Regions from separate parts of the Homo sapiens genome. Here regions 1 and 2 are each linked to region 3. The links are contacts of gene promoters, found by promoter capture Hi-C in blood cells and fetal thymus (Javierre and others, 2016). All regions are on one chromosome and are shown on one strand. The core of a region is centred on a gene start or on the middle of the fragment in contact, and the rest is flanking DNA. Distances in the headings are between cores, read along the strand shown. Region 1 overlaps SLC24A3 (solute carrier family 24 member 3). Region 2 overlaps SLC24A3 (solute carrier family 24 member 3). Region 3 holds the start of SLC24A3-AS1 (SLC24A3 antisense RNA 1).

Region 1 (3,123 bases), core at 322-2,821, 300 kb after region 3:
TCAAGCTTGACTGCCAGGAGGGAACTGGCTATTCACTGGCAGCCAGCAGCATACTTTCTGGGTCATGACTGAATGCAGAAATGCAAAATCTGGTTACCAGCCTCTAATGTATAATTGCCTTGTCTTCTTGTAAATCACCTTTTGGTTTAACAAACAGAGTAACCTGGAGAGCTCATTGTATAAACCCCGTCTTGGCAGGGCTGATGCCTCATTACCTTCTTTTCAGCCTTAAGCCCCCACTCCCACTCTCTGATCCCGGGGTTTCCAGAATGCCTCAAGGAAGGGGAGTGGGTTTCAGGAGGGTGATCCCCACATCCACACCCCAACATGCCTCCATAACCTCCTAAAGACTCACAAACTGGTTACCATGAGCGTCATTTAGCCTGAGATCAGCATAGTATCACAAAAATCAGGAAGTTTTGCATAAAAGGTTGGATTATTGGCATCTCTTAAAAATCAGAATATCTGGCCACACTGAGGGAACTGGGCAATGCTGCCCATAGAAAGAGGTGAATGCCCCCACCATAGCCTCAGACCTACCGCCTGCTGTGGCCTCCCATGGGCCCACTCCACTCCTGACTGTCATCTGCACAGCCCCTGCGGGAATTGGGTTGAAGACCCCTAGATCTTCCCAAGAGCCTTTAGCTCATAAGGACATGTAGTTCCCTCCCCAAACCTGTCCCTTAAGGAGGACATTGAGAGGAGCTCTGACTCAGCAGGGGATCGGCAGCAGTGGCTGCGCTCTGTGAGAAGGAGAAGGAGGCTGAGAGGGACTAAGTACCAGCCCCAGGTCCCATCGGTCCTACTCTCGCTGAAGCCCCAGTCTTTGCTTCTCAGGGCTTGGACTCTCGGGTGTCACAGTCACCTCTCTTCCGAGATGGAATCCCAACTCACCTGTGCTTTGTCTTTGCTCCTCTGTAGCGCCTGCACCTCAGTGAAGATGTGGCTGGGGCCACATTCATGGCAGCGGGAAGTTCGGCCCCAGAGCTGTTCACATCGGTCATAGGTAGGTGACAGACTGAGGGACATCTCAGACCTTCACTGTCTGAAGGAAAAGGGCTCTGGGAATGGATGGCCCCCAGACCGAGATTGTCTGCCACTCATAGAAAATGATAATCCAGGGACCCCAATGAGTAGAACATCAGCCTCCCATCTGCCGTTGTTGTTTTATTTAAGTGATGCTTTTACTGTGCATGAACTTGTCCCAGACCCCAAGCCCATCACACTCCTGTGCAGCTATCATCCCTCTGTAGATTAGAAAGCTCTCTCCACCCCTCAGCTGTTTCCTGTAGATTCTGAGAACAATCTAATGCTTATGAAAGGTTCCCCATGCCCACCTTGGAATGCAACAGGGCCACAACAGCCAGGCTGATGTGGGATCTGTGTTTCAGGGGTCTTCATCACCAAAGGCGATGTGGGAGTTGGCACCATCGTGGGCTCAGCGGTATTCAACATCCTGTGCATCATTGGTGTCTGTGGGCTCTTTGCTGGGCAGGTAAGACTGGCGGCTTCTTTGTGATGGCAAAATGTGACATTGGGGAAAGGGGAGGCATGGAGTTTAGGCAGGAGACTGTCTTGCTGGAACACAACTTGCATTAGGGCCCAGTGGTTTGGGCAGCAGTGATTTGGGACCTCACATCCCAGGAGGCTGGCCCAGCTAGAAGTGGAAACTGGTAATCCACCATTACTTGGTCTCCATGTTGATGGAATATAGAATGCTCAGGTCCACATAAATAATTAACCAGACTGAAAGATGTGGGTTACAATCTGAAGGGTTCCACATTCATTTTGGTATGTTACTGATCTGAACTAGAATGGCCTAAAACAATTTTAGGTATGATTTTTGCTCATTGGAAATAGAATACATGAGAATCTGCTAAACACAATGAGAATACATGAGAATCTGCTAAACAAAACATGCAGTCATCACGGTTTAGGACACAGCCTAACCTTTTTTGACTGTGGTAGAGCATTTCATTTCTCTATTATAACGTGCCTTTGGGGTTATGAAGGGCTTAGCAAGCCTGCAGTTTACCTATGGAGTTGATGCCACTTCCAGGTGGTGTCCTGCTATCTGAGTTCTTTATGAATACTGGCGTCTGTTTTGGAAAGTCTGGGGAAGGTGCTCAGAAGCCACTGCGTGGGAGGCTCTGGGCGACAAGCCTACACTGCAGCAGCACCTGGAGGTTTGTTTGCAGGGTTTGCAACTGTTTTGCCAACTCTGATATCCTAAATTTCTTCATAGGGATTTTATTCAGAAACAACACAACCCTGAGATCTCTGCCCAAATACCCACAACTTTGTGTATCTTCTAGTAAAAGGCACTTCTAAAAGCTCATGGAGGCTACTCCACTTACAATATCAAGGAACCTGCTGATCCTAACCACTTGATCAGCAGCCTTGATATGAACAGTGCACTGTTCTCCTAGAAGTGGCTGATTGGGTCAGGGGGCTAAGGAAAGCCCCGGGGCAGCCTTCCCCCTACCCTTTGCCAGGGCCCTCACCCCACAGCAGCGGCAAGGGGCACCCCATGCTGCCCGTTCCACTGATGTAGACTCGAGGGTCTCCATGCAGGATACCCCGGGTCCACCATTGCATTCTCCACTGCCCATTTTTACTTCCGTCATCTTCGTGCCTATTGATTTGTCTGGATTGCCTGGTGTGTCAGTTGCCTTCAGGTGACACGCAGAGGGACACCTGGATCTCATCGGGATTCAGCTCCAGGGCCCACAGGTGGATGGGTCCCTTCTATCTGGAAAAGGGGCTCCCAGTACATGGTGACTGAGCTCTGCTCAGCTCCTTAGACTGAATGATTTCCCTCTTCTCATCCTCTCAGTCAATGAGCTCATGTCTTAGATTTTGTGTACCCACAATATGTGCTTTTTAAATCTCCCATAAATGTAGTTAGTATTTTTTTAAAAAATGAGTCTCTGCCTTTGCCTTTGGTGCTATTTGCACTTCCCTGGCTCTCCTTTGCCTTGGACACCTGCTTGTGGCCTTCCACAGATGAACAGTTGCACCCAGCAGAAGAGTCTGTCGCTGTTAGCACTCTCCTAATTGGCATTGTCACCATCAGCAGTATGGTTATTAGTCTGGCTGTTATTAGTGTTGTCATTAGTTCAT
Region 2 (3,378 bases), core at 505-3,004, 320 kb after region 3:
TTCCTCTCCCTGAAAATTACCCAGGGGTGCAGGTGAGGCAGACCTGCCTGCCTGCCTGTTCCATGTGAACATACCACTCGCCAGTGTGCATAGCCTTGTCATGTTCTAGTTACTGCTGCCTGAGTGCTAGAGGCTTCCAATATGGGGAAGGATGACATATCATTTAAATTAGCTCCTTTTATGGCAGGAATGATTCTGGTTGACATTGGCTCAGGCAGTGCCCATAGAGATAATAGCAGTTGGTATTGATTTTATTTTTTATTTTGTAGCTCAGGGTGTTTAAAAATGTTTGGTGCTGAAATGCAAAAACACAAAATTTTTGCAGGGGATTTTAAGCTCCAGTAAAGCTCTAAAACCTCTCACTAAATTTGAATCTGGATGACTGCTTTGCAAATGATATTCATCTGACTTTGATGAGTGAATTTTTAAACTCAGGGAAGTAACCGCTTCTTTGTGCATAAATATAAATAGGAAGCATTTGTGAATCCCTCATATGTAGGAGGGAGATGAGAAAAGCAGGGACTTATAGGACTGAGAATGCAGAGGGAAGAAGGCCAGGGAAGGTCATGAACCAGAGGAGAATGCCCATGGCATAGAAGGATGTCAGAAAGCAGGAGGTCCAATCCCTCATTTTGCAGGTGAATGAACTGGTGGTCAGAACAGGGTGTGGCCTGTGCAAGTCCACACAGTGAAGAACTATCAAACTAGGACTTGAACCCCACTGTTCTGCTTTGGTCATTCCAGTGTATATGTGGACAGTGTGCGGCCAAGCCATGCCTCACACTTGGTACACCTGTCAACCCTTGTCCCTCTGCAGCCCCTCAGGCCCCTCTGTGAATTAAGGAAGAGAATGTAGGCATAGAAGAGGGTTGGACGTGTGAATGAGTTTAGATGTTTATCTTCAAGGAAGCCACCAGAAATATGAGTCAGTTCACAGACGTCCTTTGAGAACCCATAACATGGGACTTGCCTCCTTCTCCTGCCCTGATCCCCAATTGAAACTGATTCTTTAGACTCCCCATAGTTCTTTTTCCTGGACACCAATCCAGTGAACAATCTCACTGTGCATCCTCTCCACCTGCTGTACTCTATGGAATGCTTTCTTCCTCCTGAAACCCCTCTTTTCTCACCCCAAATGGTAGCATTCCTTCTCCCACAGAGATGCTCTTGGCCACACCTCCTTCAAAAGGGATGGTCTCATCTGATCTCATGACATCAGTCCCCTCCTCTGGCACCCCACTCCTCATCCTTGGTCTTGATTTTTCTCCCATCCTCATGACTTAGTTTACAAATGGGTGCCAGATCTTTCCAGCCCGGGCCTTCTGAGGCAGGCTCCAATTGGGGGTCTAAGCTATGAACTAAATTACTTGCTCATTAATGTACCATTTCACCTGAGTTCTTCTGGTACATTGGGTGCACCTTTGTGGTTTCTGTCACTCAGCCTTTAAGCCTCAGCTTCATGGCCGACTGTCCACATCCAGACTGCTGTCAAATCTAATCAATTCTTCCACTGTAGCATTTCTCATCCTGCCCCTTGCTTTCCAAGTCCACTGCACCATACACTCCAGACCTCCACTCTTGGTCAACTGGACTGCCAAAGTCCCCTCACCCCTGTCTCTCTGTTCTTTATCCTCTGCTCCATCAAATTCATTTTCATACTGATAAGGCTTCCTGAGCCTCCACTCTGACGTTGCCTCTTGCCTGAAAGGCCCCCTTTGCTGGTCACATCCCAGTAGCCCTTTCTCATGTCTAGCTGTCTTTCCCCTGTCCATATCTACAGCAGAACTGAACTGCTCGTTGTGTCTTACCTTTGTTGTCTTACCTGTGTGCTTGTGCTTATGTTGTTCTTCCTAACCAGAATGCCCTTTTTCATCTCTGTTCACTTCAACCCATCTCCCAATTTTAAAAGTGCAAGTCATTTTTGTCCTTCAAATCTGTAGTCTGTGTCACCTCCTGCAAGAAGCCTTCCCTGGTTTCCCCAGGTGGACACAATCTTCTCTTCTTTGAACTGCCATAGCAATCTTTCGGTTTTATCTTGATATTGGTGTGGGCCGATGATAGTCTTTAATAGACTCCTAAACTTGTTCGTCTGAATTGATTGTTCTGGTATTTGCTTTCTTTGGTGATGATGATATGGAGTAAGAGTGTATAGAAAAATACATACACAGATGACTGTTAATTAGCAACATAAGATTTAAATACATATTAAAGACCACAAGAAATGTGAAGTTACTGGTTGGTAAATGATTACCAAATGGATTGTACAGACTTCAAGATCCCAATGCATCATTCTACAACATGAGTTAAAGTCAGTCCTTTAATATCTGTACCATTTGCTGGTGTCTTCTCATTTAGGACACACAGTTCTATGAGAAGCATAACTAGGTAAATAACTTTTCTTTGCAGATTAGCAATACTTGCTCCATTTTTCATGTATGCTTTGGTTGTTTCTATAGAATGACCGTGTCACAATAAGGCTTTTAAAAAGAATAATAATATGTTTTTTAAGTTGTCAAAAAGGAGGGTGTAATGTATAATGGAGGCAGAGGTTCTTCGTTGATCTAAGTTCAGCATTCATTATCTGAATCACTGCTGTTGGCAGGTTGCATAGGAAAGCAAACTTGTCAAAACACACAATATTCACTAATGATCTGACCGCTTTAAAAACCTAGGCCCCCTCCTACTTTTTTTCCTGCTTAACAATAGCATCTCTCCCCATTCATTACATAAGCCAATTTTTGGCCATTTGTTGGAAATTGTAACATTCCCATAAAAATACAAACTGACTGCAAACTGAAACTGAAAATCTGGCAGAGATAGAGGGTTTCATGAGGCAGACGTGTTGAATGATGTCTCCATCCCACGTACAAAGGCATTAATGAAGGAGGCTCCTGCAATTGAGGAAGAAAAAAAGTCAAGGATGACAACCCAGGTTCTCTATCCCCCCAAAGAAAATGATACTAATATTAAAGGATCAGGATGGAGACTTGGAAAACTTGATGAAACTCTTGAATGTTTTTCCCCAAACTCTCTTTATGACCATGCAGGAAAATGAAATACGAAGGAGGGGGTTATTATCTTATGTTCTTCTACCATTTTATGGGGAAATTACACCAAGGAACAATTAACTTGGTGGCAGGACATGGTTGCTCTTATAACCTGATTTTTTTTTTTCAGTTATAAAGACTTTTATTTCTGTCCTACCACAATAGAGAAATCTTAATTTTTTAGTATTTATTTTTATGTATGTATTTATTTATTTTTTAATTTTACTTTAAGTTCCAGGATACATGTGCAGACTGTGCAGGCTTTTGTTATATAGGTATACATGTACCATGGTGGTTTGCTGCTATCAACCTGTCATCTAGGTTTTAAGCC
Region 3 (3,024 bases), core at 179-2,678:
CTGAGGCCCTTGATTCAGAACCAAATTCCACAAGGAAGATGATCATGCCTGAAACAGGAGAAGTTCTGTTCAAATCCTAACACATCAAGGGCTGGGTCAGAGCCCACGTGCTTCATGAAGCTTGCTTGGACCACCCCAGACTGCAGCATTCTTTTCTGACTGCTGCTGGTATAAAATGTCTCCACATGTGCTGTTAAATATGGACATTCAATGGCAATTTCAATTCAAGTGAATTCAAACCAACTAAAATTAAATATTCAGATTCTCAGTTGCACCAACTACATGTCAAATACTCGATAGTTGGATCACAGATGACAGCACAGGTCCCAAAACATTTCCATCATCACAGAAAGAGCTATTGGACAGGGTGGTCAGAACTTGCAGTTGTCTTTGGATGTATCTCCTGTCTTTCCAGCCCAATTGCAAACATCTCAAGGGTGTAGAGCAAATATGTAAATCTGAGGGCCTTATCTCTACCCCGGGTCTTAGAGTCACACTGACCTGAAGCTGTGGACTTTGGCCAAATAGCCAGGTTCTCAGAGTCTCTGTGTGCTTCTCTAGAAGTTGACATCATCATTCTGATCTTTCATGATTGCTGTGAGAATTACTAATAAAGTGTGGACAGCTTAGTGCCCTGGGTTTGATGGCACTGTAGTAGGAGTGTATTCGTGAATTTCCCACCCTCTGTCCTGGGGCATCATTACGGGTGGGGCACAGTGCAAGATTCCTAGAGCAACATTCTCCAGCTACTCCCTGCAGAGCGAGTCTGTCAGCAGGCCACACCGCAGGTAGCTCAGGTCTAAACAGACCGTCATCTAGACAGGAGGCTTCAGTACCATCTTCCCATGTAGGCAAGCCCTGAAGACCTCAGGCTTGGCAATGAATGCCATCATCTCTGCTGCATTGACTATTTCTAACAACAGGATCAGAACATTGCCACAGACACATGTGAGCCCTGGTTACCTCCATGCCCTTACCAGAATGCTGTCGAAGCTGGCTCCTCGGTCTGGACTGGACAGATATTTTATGAAAAAAGTTGAGAGCCAAAGCACCCATAAGGTCCTGATTTAGAAGCATCATTTTAATAATATTCATCTTCTCTGCCTCTAACTTGTTGTTGGGTGAAATGGTTGAGCAGGAGTGAGGTGAGGGCAGGTTCATTCTAAAACTTTGTTCAGTTTTCCTTAAGAGGCCCTGGGCACAATGAATACTACTTGTGCTGGTTAAATATAGTGCCATCTGCCCTCGAAAATCTTAAATAGAGAGGCTAGGAAGTGAGCCCTGTGGTTCCTGGACTCTCTCCCTTCCTATTTATGATGATGTCAGCGGCAGCAGTACACTTAACAGAGCCTACGGAGCAGGCTTCCCTCTGTGCTTGGAGGAGTGAAGATTTACACAGGGACTTGAGTGTTTGGGGTGCAGTGTGTGTCCTGGCTGTCTGAGTTATGGTGGCAAGGTCACAGGCAGGAGTTAATTTGGCATTTGTCATAAAGTACACCCAGCTGCCACTTGTGATGTCATGGGGCTTCTCAGACTGTGCTGTCAGAAGCCCTGGCTTTAGATGCTATTAGAGGAAGCCTGTAGATTCAGAGACTGGAGACAGAGTTACCTCTATTCTGGTTATATTCCCTGTTGGGGCATGATTCTGGTTTGCCTCTCAGATTACCATTTCCTCACCTACAAAATAGATCTTCAACTACATTTATCCCTTCCCTTGCACACATCCATTTATTCCAAGAAATTTCAAGAATAGAAATTCAAGAAAACTTCTTCCCCTTGACACTCTCCCATTTCCCTTAATAACTGCTGTGTTTGCAGAATTCCATGCCATACCTCAAGCCTTCCTCTACTCCCTCTCCCCTCCTCCCCTTCCCTCTGCCCTGCCTTCTCCCTTTCTCTCTGTCTGAAAACCAGGAGCACAGAGTGCCCAGTTTTGGTGCCAGAGAAAGCCCAGGGTGCTGTCTTCTGATGACAGCTGCTACTTTAAGGATATATTACTTTATACATTTTCTGCTTTCAAAAAAATGGCACTGGGCGCGGTGACTCACGCCTATAATCCCAGCACTTTGGGAGCCCAAGGCGGGTGGATTACTTGAGGCCAGGAGTTCGGGACCAGCCTGGGCAACATGGTGAAACCCCATCTCTATAAAATGTACAAAAGTTAGCCAGTCGTGGTGGTGTGAGTCTGTGGTCCCAGCTACTTGGGGGGCTGAGGTGGAAGGATCAACTGAGCCTGGGAGATGGAGGTTGCAGTGAGCTGAGATCACTCCACTGCACTCCAGCCTGGGTGACAGAATGAGACCCTGTCTCAAAAAAAAAAAAAAAAAAAAAAAAAGGCATTTTTCCTTTGCCCCTTGAAGACCTAGTTTTGGTAGAAATTTGTGATTTTTTTTTTTTTTTCTACCTTCAGAACTGCATGAACAAGACTGACTGACCTCCGGGCTCCAACTTTTCTTTGCAATTGTTCCAGCTCTCTGTGAATTTTTAAGGTTGTTTTCTTAGCCTGACACTGCCGACTTCATCTGAAGCCTGGAAACATTTTTTTTTTTTTCTTTTGGCAAGTAACACTTGAAATTGTTTACTCAGATGACCTATTAAGAGAAATTTAACTTTGAATAATTTGATCCATGGAAAATTAAGTTAGCTAAATGTAATATTGAAGATGGTAGACAACTGTAGCAGAAATGAATTCTTTGTAATATTTATTTGTGCACTTTACAGAATTTTATTTATACACTTTGCAGTGTGTCTCCAGAAAAATATATCATCTTTTGGTTTTTGGTTCCTTGATATTTTAAGGAAATGAGCTTTTCCTCAGAGTGCTTTTTCCAAATAAACTTTGGAAGAAGGAAAATATTTAAAATGATGGCCTTTGGTGTGGGCTTCACTGTGAGATCACTGGATTTCCCTTGATAAAGGATCATCCCACTCTGTCTGGCTTAGCTGGGCCTAAGGCCTCGAAAAGTGAAGAGGATGCTTGGCCTGTGTTTCAAGACCAAAGTCAGGCTGGCAGGGCACTGCCCT

What was found. The method cuts DNA at HindIII sites, captures the fragments that hold promoters and counts their contacts. A CHiCAGO score of 5 or more calls a contact.
Region 1: a fragment that was not itself captured here is called in contact with the fragment with the promoter of SLC24A3-AS1 in region 3 in 4 of 17 cell types (megakaryocytes, M0 macrophages, M2 macrophages and 1 more); the score reaches 8.5 in megakaryocytes.
Region 2: a fragment that was not itself captured here is called in contact with the fragment with the promoter of SLC24A3-AS1 in region 3 in 1 of 17 cell types (M2 macrophages); the score reaches 5.7 in M2 macrophages.

Annotation. Positions count from the first base shown.
Region 1 is chr20:19,584,050-19,587,172 of GRCh38, forward strand. It overlaps SLC24A3 (solute carrier family 24 member 3), which reads left to right. Exons shown (of 17, transcript NM_020689.4): 5 at 922-1,006; 6 at 1,392-1,495. Among named protein-coding and RNA genes, the nearest start is that of RIN2, 170 kb to the right of the region's middle. The HindIII fragment of the contact is 3,137 bases long and covers 4-3,123 here.
Region 2 is chr20:19,606,148-19,609,525 of GRCh38, forward strand. The region is part of intron 6 of SLC24A3 (solute carrier family 24 member 3); the gene reads left to right. Among named protein-coding and RNA genes, the nearest start is that of RIN2, 150 kb to the right of the region's middle. The HindIII fragment of the contact is 4,367 bases long and covers 1-3,378 here.
Region 3 is chr20:19,283,168-19,286,191 of GRCh38, forward strand. SLC24A3-AS1 (SLC24A3 antisense RNA 1) reads right to left here and starts at 1,429. Exons shown (of 8, transcript NR_024564.1): 1 at 978-1,429; 2 at 1-48. The region is part of intron 2 of SLC24A3 (solute carrier family 24 member 3); the gene reads left to right. The HindIII fragment of the contact is 4,681 bases long and covers 119-3,024 here.